Linked DNA regions of Homo sapiens: regions 2 and 3 are each linked to region 1. The links are contacts of gene promoters, found by promoter capture Hi-C in human tissues and cell types (Jung and others, 2019). All regions are on one chromosome and are shown on one strand. The core of a region is centred on a gene start or on the middle of the fragment in contact, and the rest is flanking DNA. Distances in the headings are between cores, read along the strand shown.

What was found. The method cuts DNA at HindIII sites, captures the fragments that hold promoters and counts their contacts. A contact is called where the count stands out against the background at its distance.
Region 2: a contact is called between the fragment with the promoter of KRT79 here and the fragment with the promoter of KRT83 in region 1, in 7 of the 25 tissues and cell types used here (bladder, heart left ventricle, heart right ventricle and 4 more).
Region 3: a contact is called between the fragment with the promoter of EIF4B here and the fragment with the promoter of KRT83 in region 1, in 5 of the 25 tissues and cell types used here (H1 embryonic stem cells, IMR-90 fibroblasts, heart right ventricle and 2 more).

What each region holds. Positions count from the first base shown.
Region 1 is chr12:52,320,122-52,322,821 of GRCh38, reverse strand. It overlaps KRT83 (keratin 83), which reads left to right and starts at 1,424. Exons shown (of 9, transcript NM_002282.3): 1 at 1,424-1,870. The coding sequence starts at 1,487. The HindIII fragment of the contact is 13,306 bases long and covers 1-2,700 here.
Region 2 is chr12:52,832,866-52,835,565 of GRCh38, reverse strand. KRT79 (keratin 79) reads left to right here and starts at 1,255. Exons shown (of 9, transcript NM_175834.3): 1 at 1,255-1,782. The coding sequence starts at 1,306. The HindIII fragment of the contact is 20,589 bases long and covers 1-2,700 here.
Region 3 is chr12:53,005,029-53,007,728 of GRCh38, reverse strand. It overlaps EIF4B (eukaryotic translation initiation factor 4B), which reads right to left and starts at 1,273. Exons shown (of 15, transcript NM_001417.7): 1 at 1,233-1,273. The coding sequence starts at 1,245. RefSeq lists enhancers at 415-1,158, 1,159-1,902. The HindIII fragment of the contact is 23,564 bases long and covers 1-2,700 here.

The DNA.
Region 1 (2,700 bases), core at 175-2,674:
TCTCCTGACGAAAGCAGTCCAGAGATGTGTGTTTGGAAGGGTTGATGGGCTCAGGTCCTCGGGTTAAGGCAAACCTCCTGGCTCGGTCCGACTGTCCATCCATCAAAGCCATTGCCTGTCCTAACCCAAAGGAACAAGGGCCCAAAGTAAGAGAGCTTGGCTTTAGGAACAGCCACATGAGCTAGCACCCTTCTCTCACCCAGTGTGTTCTCTGAGGTGAGAGAGTGATCTCATTTAAGGACCCTGCTGATGTCCCTCACCTCCCGCACCTTCCCTCCTTCCTGGTGAGTACATACACCCCAAGACCCCATCACTGAGCTTCCCTGCTGGGAACCTAAAGAACACCAATCAGCCTGGACATTGTGAGGGCCTTCCCCCCATCTGTGGCTTCTCATCTTTCCCCCTAGCCAAATGTTGGCTCCCCCACATGCATGCTACCTCCAAACACCCCAGGTCTCTGTAGGATTTCCAGAACCTAGCACAGTGGCTAGTGCATAGTTGGTGGGCACCAAATAAGTATTTCCTGAATAAATGAATAAATGAATAAATGAATAAATGAATACACATAGTCTAGTCTGCAAATCAGAGCCAGACTCTTTTCTGGTCATCTCTCAATCCTGTACTACCCCACCCCAATCCTCCTCAAGCCCAGGTCCCCACTCTCCTCCATGAGTCCCTGGAGCTCTGAGGTATTCCACACTCCCCGCTCCTGATCCCATCAGCAATGACACCTGGAACTCTGAAGCATAGCCCTGGCACTGTCCTGAACTCTCTGAATCAGTTTCTTCCATGTCCCAGATGGTGTCCCTGCACTAGGAATACCCAAAGTGCAAAGAACATGCCCTCCTCCCACCCCAAATCTCTACCCCCACTCCCATCCTTGACCAGGCTCTGAGCAGGAATAGGATAGGAGCGGCCAATCTTGACAATGAGGAAAGGAACCCGCCTTTGAGAAAAAGACAGGAAAGCCTACAGCAAGAGGTTGTCTCAGAGGCAGCCCCCTCCTTGGGACAGGCCAGCCACTCCACCCCAGGGCTTGGCCATGGGTCCAGGGCCCATAGCCTAGCTCTGCCCCTTTCAGAACAGGGTTCAGAGAGCAGGCTTTACCCCAGGTCACTGCACCCATTCCCCTCGCTTGGACCGCAGAATGCAACTAATGCTTTCAGGAACCCCTCTCCCCGCTCCACAGCAGTGCCAGTGGGAGGGGCAGGAGCAAGGAGGAAGCTTATAAAGGGCTTTGAAGATGAAACAGGGCCCGTGGCCAGGGATTGTTGATGCAGCCACACTGAAGAGGCAAGCAGGGTTCTAGCTTAAGAGGCCAGGGTGATGCCAAGCCAATAAAATTCAGCTATTGTCTCTTTGCTCCCTCTTTTAACACCAGCTGCCCCTGGCACATAAAAGGGCCTGCCATCAGCCAGGGAGCACAGGCCCTTGGTTCCATCCTCTGCCATCTACTCCACTGTTCAGACACCTCCTAACCTCCGTCATGACCTGTGGCTTCAACTCCATAGGCTGTGGGTTCCGCCCTGGAAACTTCAGCTGTGTCTCTGCCTGCGGGCCCCGGCCAAGCCGCTGCTGCATCACCGCCGCCCCCTACCGCGGCATCTCCTGCTACCGCGGCCTCACCGGGGGCTTTGGCAGCCACAGCGTGTGCGGGGGCTTCCGCGCCGGCTCCTGCGGACGCAGCTTCGGCTACCGCTCCGGGGGCGTGTGCGGACCCAGCCCCCCATGCATCACCACCGTGTCGGTCAACGAGAGCCTCCTCACGCCCCTCAACCTGGAGATAGACCCCAACGCGCAGTGCGTGAAGCAGGAGGAGAAGGAGCAGATCAAGTCCCTCAACAGCAGATTCGCGGCCTTCATCGACAAGGTGGGTGTCGTCCTGGATCACACCCTTCCTGAACCCCTACTCATGTTCAGAACTCAGGCTGGGCACTGACAGGGAAGTCAAAGGCAAGAACTTGCCCACAGAAGTTCCCAGGCCAAAGGGAAAGGTAGTCATACTTCTAGGACACAGACAGAAAGACAAAAATGGGACCGGGAGCTACCAGACTGATGGGGGAGATTAACTGAAAACACAAAAGCAGAACGAGGGGCAGAGCCTTCCACACTGAGTGATAATATCACCTAGTGAGCAAAGGACCACTGTGTGGGCGCTCAGGGCATTTGAAGCCAAATAACTGCTTAAATGCCAAGGAGATGCTGTCTCCATCAAGGCAGGGCTAATAAGTGTGGTGCTGGAAAACTGTCTGGAAGTGGGTCTCGTGGATGGCACAGAACTCTTTCTATACCACACAGTGATTTGGCCACTGAGCAGGGTCTAGAGTATTTTGTCCAAGCCACTGTTCCTGGGGCTCAGGATCCAGGGGTGAGCAAGAGTCATGGTCCCCATCCTCACAGGCTTTATGGGGAGGCAGGCAGTGCACAGTCTGGGTTTGGTTGAAACCATCTGTGTAGTCAGTGTCCAACTAGAGTTTGCAGCCACCTTCTCCACTGAATCCAGGCAACCACCATGTGGCAGTGATGTGAGAGACTGGGAGAAAAGGCTCTGACTAGGAACATGTTCTGGGGTTGGAAAGAGCCCTCCAGAGCCAAAACCTCAAGAGAGGAGTCACACTAGAGAGATGCCCACCAGAAAGGATCGGGAAAAAAAAATGTGGAATTTCTAATAGCATGAGAGACCAAGGATAGCATAAGATA
Region 2 (2,700 bases), core at 6-2,505, 510 kb before region 1:
GATGGGGGTGGGGAGCACAGCGATGCTGTCCTCGCTCCTTTTTTTCAGGCAAGTCTCTGTTCACTTTGAGCCCATCTTCTTGCTGAGAGAAGGGGGTGGGGAGGGCCAGTGTCTAAAGTCACCTCCTCAGTCACCCCTCGGCCCTGACAGTTGACGTCTCTGTCTTTGCTTGGGGCTGTGTTTGGTCCCAGCAGACTGAGGTGAATAGGAAGTGGGCGGCGGGGACCATATGAGGTGATTTAAGGAGCTCCCCTGGCCCCTCTGAATCAGAAACATGGGCTCCTGCATGTGGGGCAGGGGAAGATGGGAGTGACGGGGCTGCTGCGTGGGCCTCCTGGGGCTTTTTTGGAACACCTGCTTTTTGGAGCTGTGCCTGTCTCCACCCAGGGTGGTCTGTGTCCTTGACCCACCTCCAGCTCCCTCCAAAGTGGCTGAACCTTTCTGTGGGGACTCTGCTGTGGGGTAGAGGCTCAGGGATCTCAGGTATTGGTTAAATCCCCTGCCCTCTCTTCAGCCTCCATAAGAATGTCCTTTGCTCCCAGGCTTCTGGGCCCTGCCTGAGGACCCCAGGCCTTTTCTACCTCCTGATCAAGGGCCTGGGCCCCACGATTGGGCAGGGATCCTCTTTCTGTCCTTGAATTCACTTTGCCAGCATAGGCTCACTTCCCAGAAGGCTCTGCCACTGTACGGCAGAGGCACAGGCTATCCCCACTCTCGCCCTGTCACCTGTGTCACACACCCTGGACCTGGGAGGAGTGGTGGGCCGTTGGCTGGGGGTGGGATGGGAGCAGGCCTGGATGCTCTCTCTGGCAGCCCATTGCCCAATGCTCCTTCTCCTACCACCTGTACAGCCCCAGGCCCTGCAGCCTTGGCTTACAACAGGGGCCTGGGACAAACCCCGTAGAACAGAGCCCTATTGACAGTGGCCTCTGGGGCTGGGTGGGAGGACAGCAAGCCAGCCACTGGGTGGTGGGGGTGGCCATGGGAGCCCGTATCATCCTGTGCCAACCGAGGAGAGCCTGGGGGCAGGGGGAGAAGGTGGCATCCTGCCCCAGACAGTCTCGGCTCAGCCCCAGCTCTGGAGCACAGGTGATAACCGGGAGGGCCCCTCCCTCCTGCTTGGGGAGAGGGCACTCCCCGTGGCCCTAAGGACCCCTCCCTCTCCCCTTGGGGCGATGGGGCAGGAGTGTCTGTGGAGCTGGGGAGCCGGCCCAGTTGGGAAAAGATAAAAAGCCCACAGTGGCCCAGCAGCTCACGGCACTCCCTTCCTGCCCTCTCATCCTGCCCTCCGGCCCCTCTGCAGCTATGAGGTCCTCCGTCTCTCGGCAAACATACTCCACAAAAGGGGGCTTCAGCTCCAACTCTGCCAGCGGAGGGAGTGGGTCCCAGGCCCGCACCAGCTTCAGCTCAGTGACGGTGTCTCGGAGCAGTGGCAGTGGTGGCGGGGCCCACTGTGGCCCCGGCACAGGTGGCTTTGGCAGCCGAAGCCTCTATAACTTGGGGGGCCACAAGAGTATCTCTGTCAGTGTGGCCGGAGGGGCCTTGTTGGGGCGGGCTCTGGGGGGCTTTGGCTTTGGCAGCAGGGCATTTATGGGACAGGGGGCTGGCAGGCAGACGTTTGGGCCTGCTTGTCCTCCTGGGGGGATCCAGGAGGTCACTGTCAACCAGAGCCTGCTGACCCCCCTCCATGTGGAGATTGACCCCGAGATCCAGCGAGTGCGCACTCAGGAGCGGGAGCAGATCAAGACCCTCAACAACAAGTTCGCCTCCTTCATCGACAAGGTGGGCCAAGCAGGAAGGAGGAAGGGAGCTCTTGGGGAAGAAGCGGGACCTCTAATAGAGGGTGGGCTGGGCCAGGGCTGCTGTAGCCCACTTGTACTAGGGTGGTGGTTGATAGAGCTCTGGAGCTCTCCCGGTCTGAGCCTGGGATGCCGAGACGTGGGTGGCTGGAGGCGGCCTTCAGGTCTTCACCGTGCCTGTGCGGGGGGAGTCTCCAGTCTACTCATGAGTCCGGTTTGCCAAGTCCACCTTGCCCGTGTTGAAGCCTGTCCTACCACCATGATTAATACGATTGATTGCACAGTAGCCTTACCTCATCATCAAAAAATGGATTGTCCTCATAGCTCCTCTTAGTGGGGTGGCCTGCATTGCCTTTTGTCATTTTACAGCTGGGGAAACAATGCTCAGGAGTTGAAAGAGTTGTTCAAGGCTAAGAGCATGGAGCCCTGTTTGTTCCATTCTTTCAGGCTTGGAGGAGGCTTAAGGGCAAGATGTGATCAAAACACAGTTGTGTGTGGGTGGGGTCCTAGGGGTAGGCTCCCTTCCGCTTCTCCTTTTTTTACACTCTGAGTGAAGAAGCTCAATTTGGGGTGGACAATGAGGAGGGTGGTCACCAGGTCACCAAGCTCTGGGAATGTGGAATTTGACCTGTTGCCCATAGGCATGCCCTGAACCTTGCCCTTGCCTCCAGATGGATGGGAGCAACACTTGTGCTGGGATTTCCTGGTCTGTTTCGCTGGCATTGTCCACCTCGATCCTGAGCCAAGGCAGCGGGTCATGATGGGGAAGGTCTGGCAGACAAATGTACCTTGGTTCAGTGATTTGTGTGTTTCCGAAGAACATGCACATCCCTTTTCTCCTGAGGTACCCACAGTGCTTCTATGAAGACTCAGAAATGGTGATATTGTGCCCATTTTTGAG
Region 3 (2,700 bases), core at 24-2,523, 690 kb before region 1:
ACGATGAATTACTAGGTAAGAAATGAGCACCCAGAGATAGAAGTTCAAATAATGTTTTGAAGAATGCAAGGTCATGCCAGAGAAAACAAACTATATTCCTCAAACTAAAATCAATGCTACAAGATGTTGGGTCATCACTGCTTTTATAAGCCCATTAGAAATGTAATTAGACTTGCAAGGCACTGATACTCCCCTCCAAGGTTGTCTAAAGAAGTAAGCAACTCCAGCCATTAGTAAGCACTATTTTAAAAGTACCTGCTGGTAGTTGCACAGTTACCTTAAAAAAAAAAAAAAAAAAAAAAAAAAAAGGCTGAAATCTACCATTGGAGCTATCCAAATTCAACCAACATGGAAGCGCCGGAAGCGAAACCTGATCCTGGCATATAGCTGCGCTGAGTAAAAAATGCCTCCAATTGAGTATGAGAAAAAAGCCTAGAAGGAAATCTAGGTGCACACCGGTGCTTCTCCAACACGTGGGCGCACCTAACTGGATTCCCCACCCCCATCTAACGCCAATAGCACCAACCTCCAAGGCTAACACACACACCCTTAGAAGAATACAGGCACAGGGCCCACACTCTAGAAAGGGAAGAGACAACCTAAAAGGACATAAGTGCGCAACACAGGCGCGTTAAAAAGCTTCCCATCTGGGTTCTAGCGCACGCATTGAAGGCGCGCCCGTCTCTACTACCCTCGTGTCTCCTACCGCGCACGCGCACCGCTGCCTTCCCCCGCCCCTCCACCAACTCGCGCTCGCGTTCCAACTGCTCCCCCCCACCACACTTACTCCCCTACCCCCCACTCCGGTCCGCTACAGCCTCGCGCCTTGGAGACGTAGTCTAATGTGCACTCGTCCGCGCAGCAACCGCCTCCTTCCTTCCTCCACGCCTTCACGCGGGCACGGTGATTCACGTCTACGAAAAGGCCTCGCACCACCCGCACACCTTTCTGCGCCTCCTTCCCCAATTCAAGCCAGAGTCTACCATTACTGCCTATTCCAATCTCGCGCAGAAAGGGTGAAAAGAGTGTGAGGGGGAGGGGAAGGTGTCCTTCCCCTCCCCCCCAAACATCCAGAGGCAGTAACCTAACAGGGCCACGCCGCCAGCCTGCCGCAGCCCTCAATTCAGAAAGGAACCAGTGCCAGCAATTCCCCGACTTCAGGAAATCAGTGGATCACGCTCGGAGGGGGGTTTCAGAGCCCAGTCCTTGGCCGCGCTCGGCTGCTCGCTCACCTGAGGCCGCCATGTTGGGAGAGGGAAAGAGAACGCAAAAGACCCGGATGAGGCAATCACGTGATTATAGCGGGCGCGTCGAGCTAGGAGACGCGAAGCTGGGAGGGGGCGGGGAGGTGAGGACGGAGACAGGAGGCGGGGCGGCGCTGCTCTAGGTTCGTAAAGCTGCGCGGCGAGGTGGCACGCCGTCCGACGGGAAGACATGCGCGACATGTGGCCAAAGGGGCGGGGCCTGGGTTGTCGCGAAACCCCTCACGCTTTACGTAGGGCTACACGCGAGCGCGGGGCTGGAGCTGAGTCCTGGCCGGCCTCCTGACGCACAGACTTCCTGCCGGAAGAGTGGCGGGAAGGGCGGGGCTTCGCTGCTGCTTCTGCTTACTCTGCACGGAGCCGGTGATGGGTGTGGCGAAATGGATGTGCTGAAAGGGAAGATTCTGAGTTTAATGTACTTTTTTGAGACGGAGTTTCGCTCCTGTTGTCCGGGCTGGAGTGCAATGGCGTGCGCGACCTCGGCTCATTGCAACCCCCGCCTCTCGGGTTCAGGCGATTCACCTGCCTCAGCCTCTGGAGTAGCTGGGATTACAGGCGCCCACCACCATTCGCTGCTAGTTTTTTGTATTTTTAGTAGAAACGGGATATTTCACCATATTGGCCATGCTGGTCTTGAACTCCTGGTCTCAGGCTATCCACCCGCCTCGGCCTCCCAAAGTGCTGGATTATAGGCGTGAGCCACCGCGCCCGGCCTAGTTTTTAAAAGCCACATCAGAAATCACTGATTTTATTTTTATTTATTTTTATTTTTTGAGACGGGGTCTCGCCCTGTCTCCCAAGCTGGAGTGCAGTGGCGCGATCTCGGCTCACTGCAGCCTCAACCTCCGGGGCTCAAGCAGTTCTTCCACCTCAGCCTCCTGAGTAGCTGGGACCACAGGCGAGTGCCTCCAGGACCAGCTAATTAAAAAAAAGTCTTTGTGTGGAGACAGAGTGGCGGGCTTGGGGGGGGCGGTGTGTCTCCCTGTGTCGCCTGGGCTGGTCTCGAACTCCTGGACTCAAGCATTCCTCCCTCCGAGGCCTCCCACAGTGCCGGGATTACAGGCATCAACCACTGTTTGTTTTCAAATTACTTTTTGTAAAGGCAAAACAAATCGAACGTCTTGTGTAAGAATGGTTTTAATGAGGCATATTTAGACGGAATAAGAAGGTAACAAATGCTGAACACTTAATTGTCATGGGCTTTTACCTCATTTAATGGTCCAATTTGCTGACTAGGTTTAGTCCAACTTAGGCCTTTAGGATTTCTGAGACTAGGGCTATTCATGCTTCCCCTAGCTGATGTTCCATTTCATTCATTAAATGAAAATTTTTGTTTCCCACCGTGTGCCAGGCACAGACACTTGCGGGTACAACATGGAATAGAACTGTCCCAAAAGAGGTTATATTCTAGTGGGGGAAGGACAGATAATAAGCAACT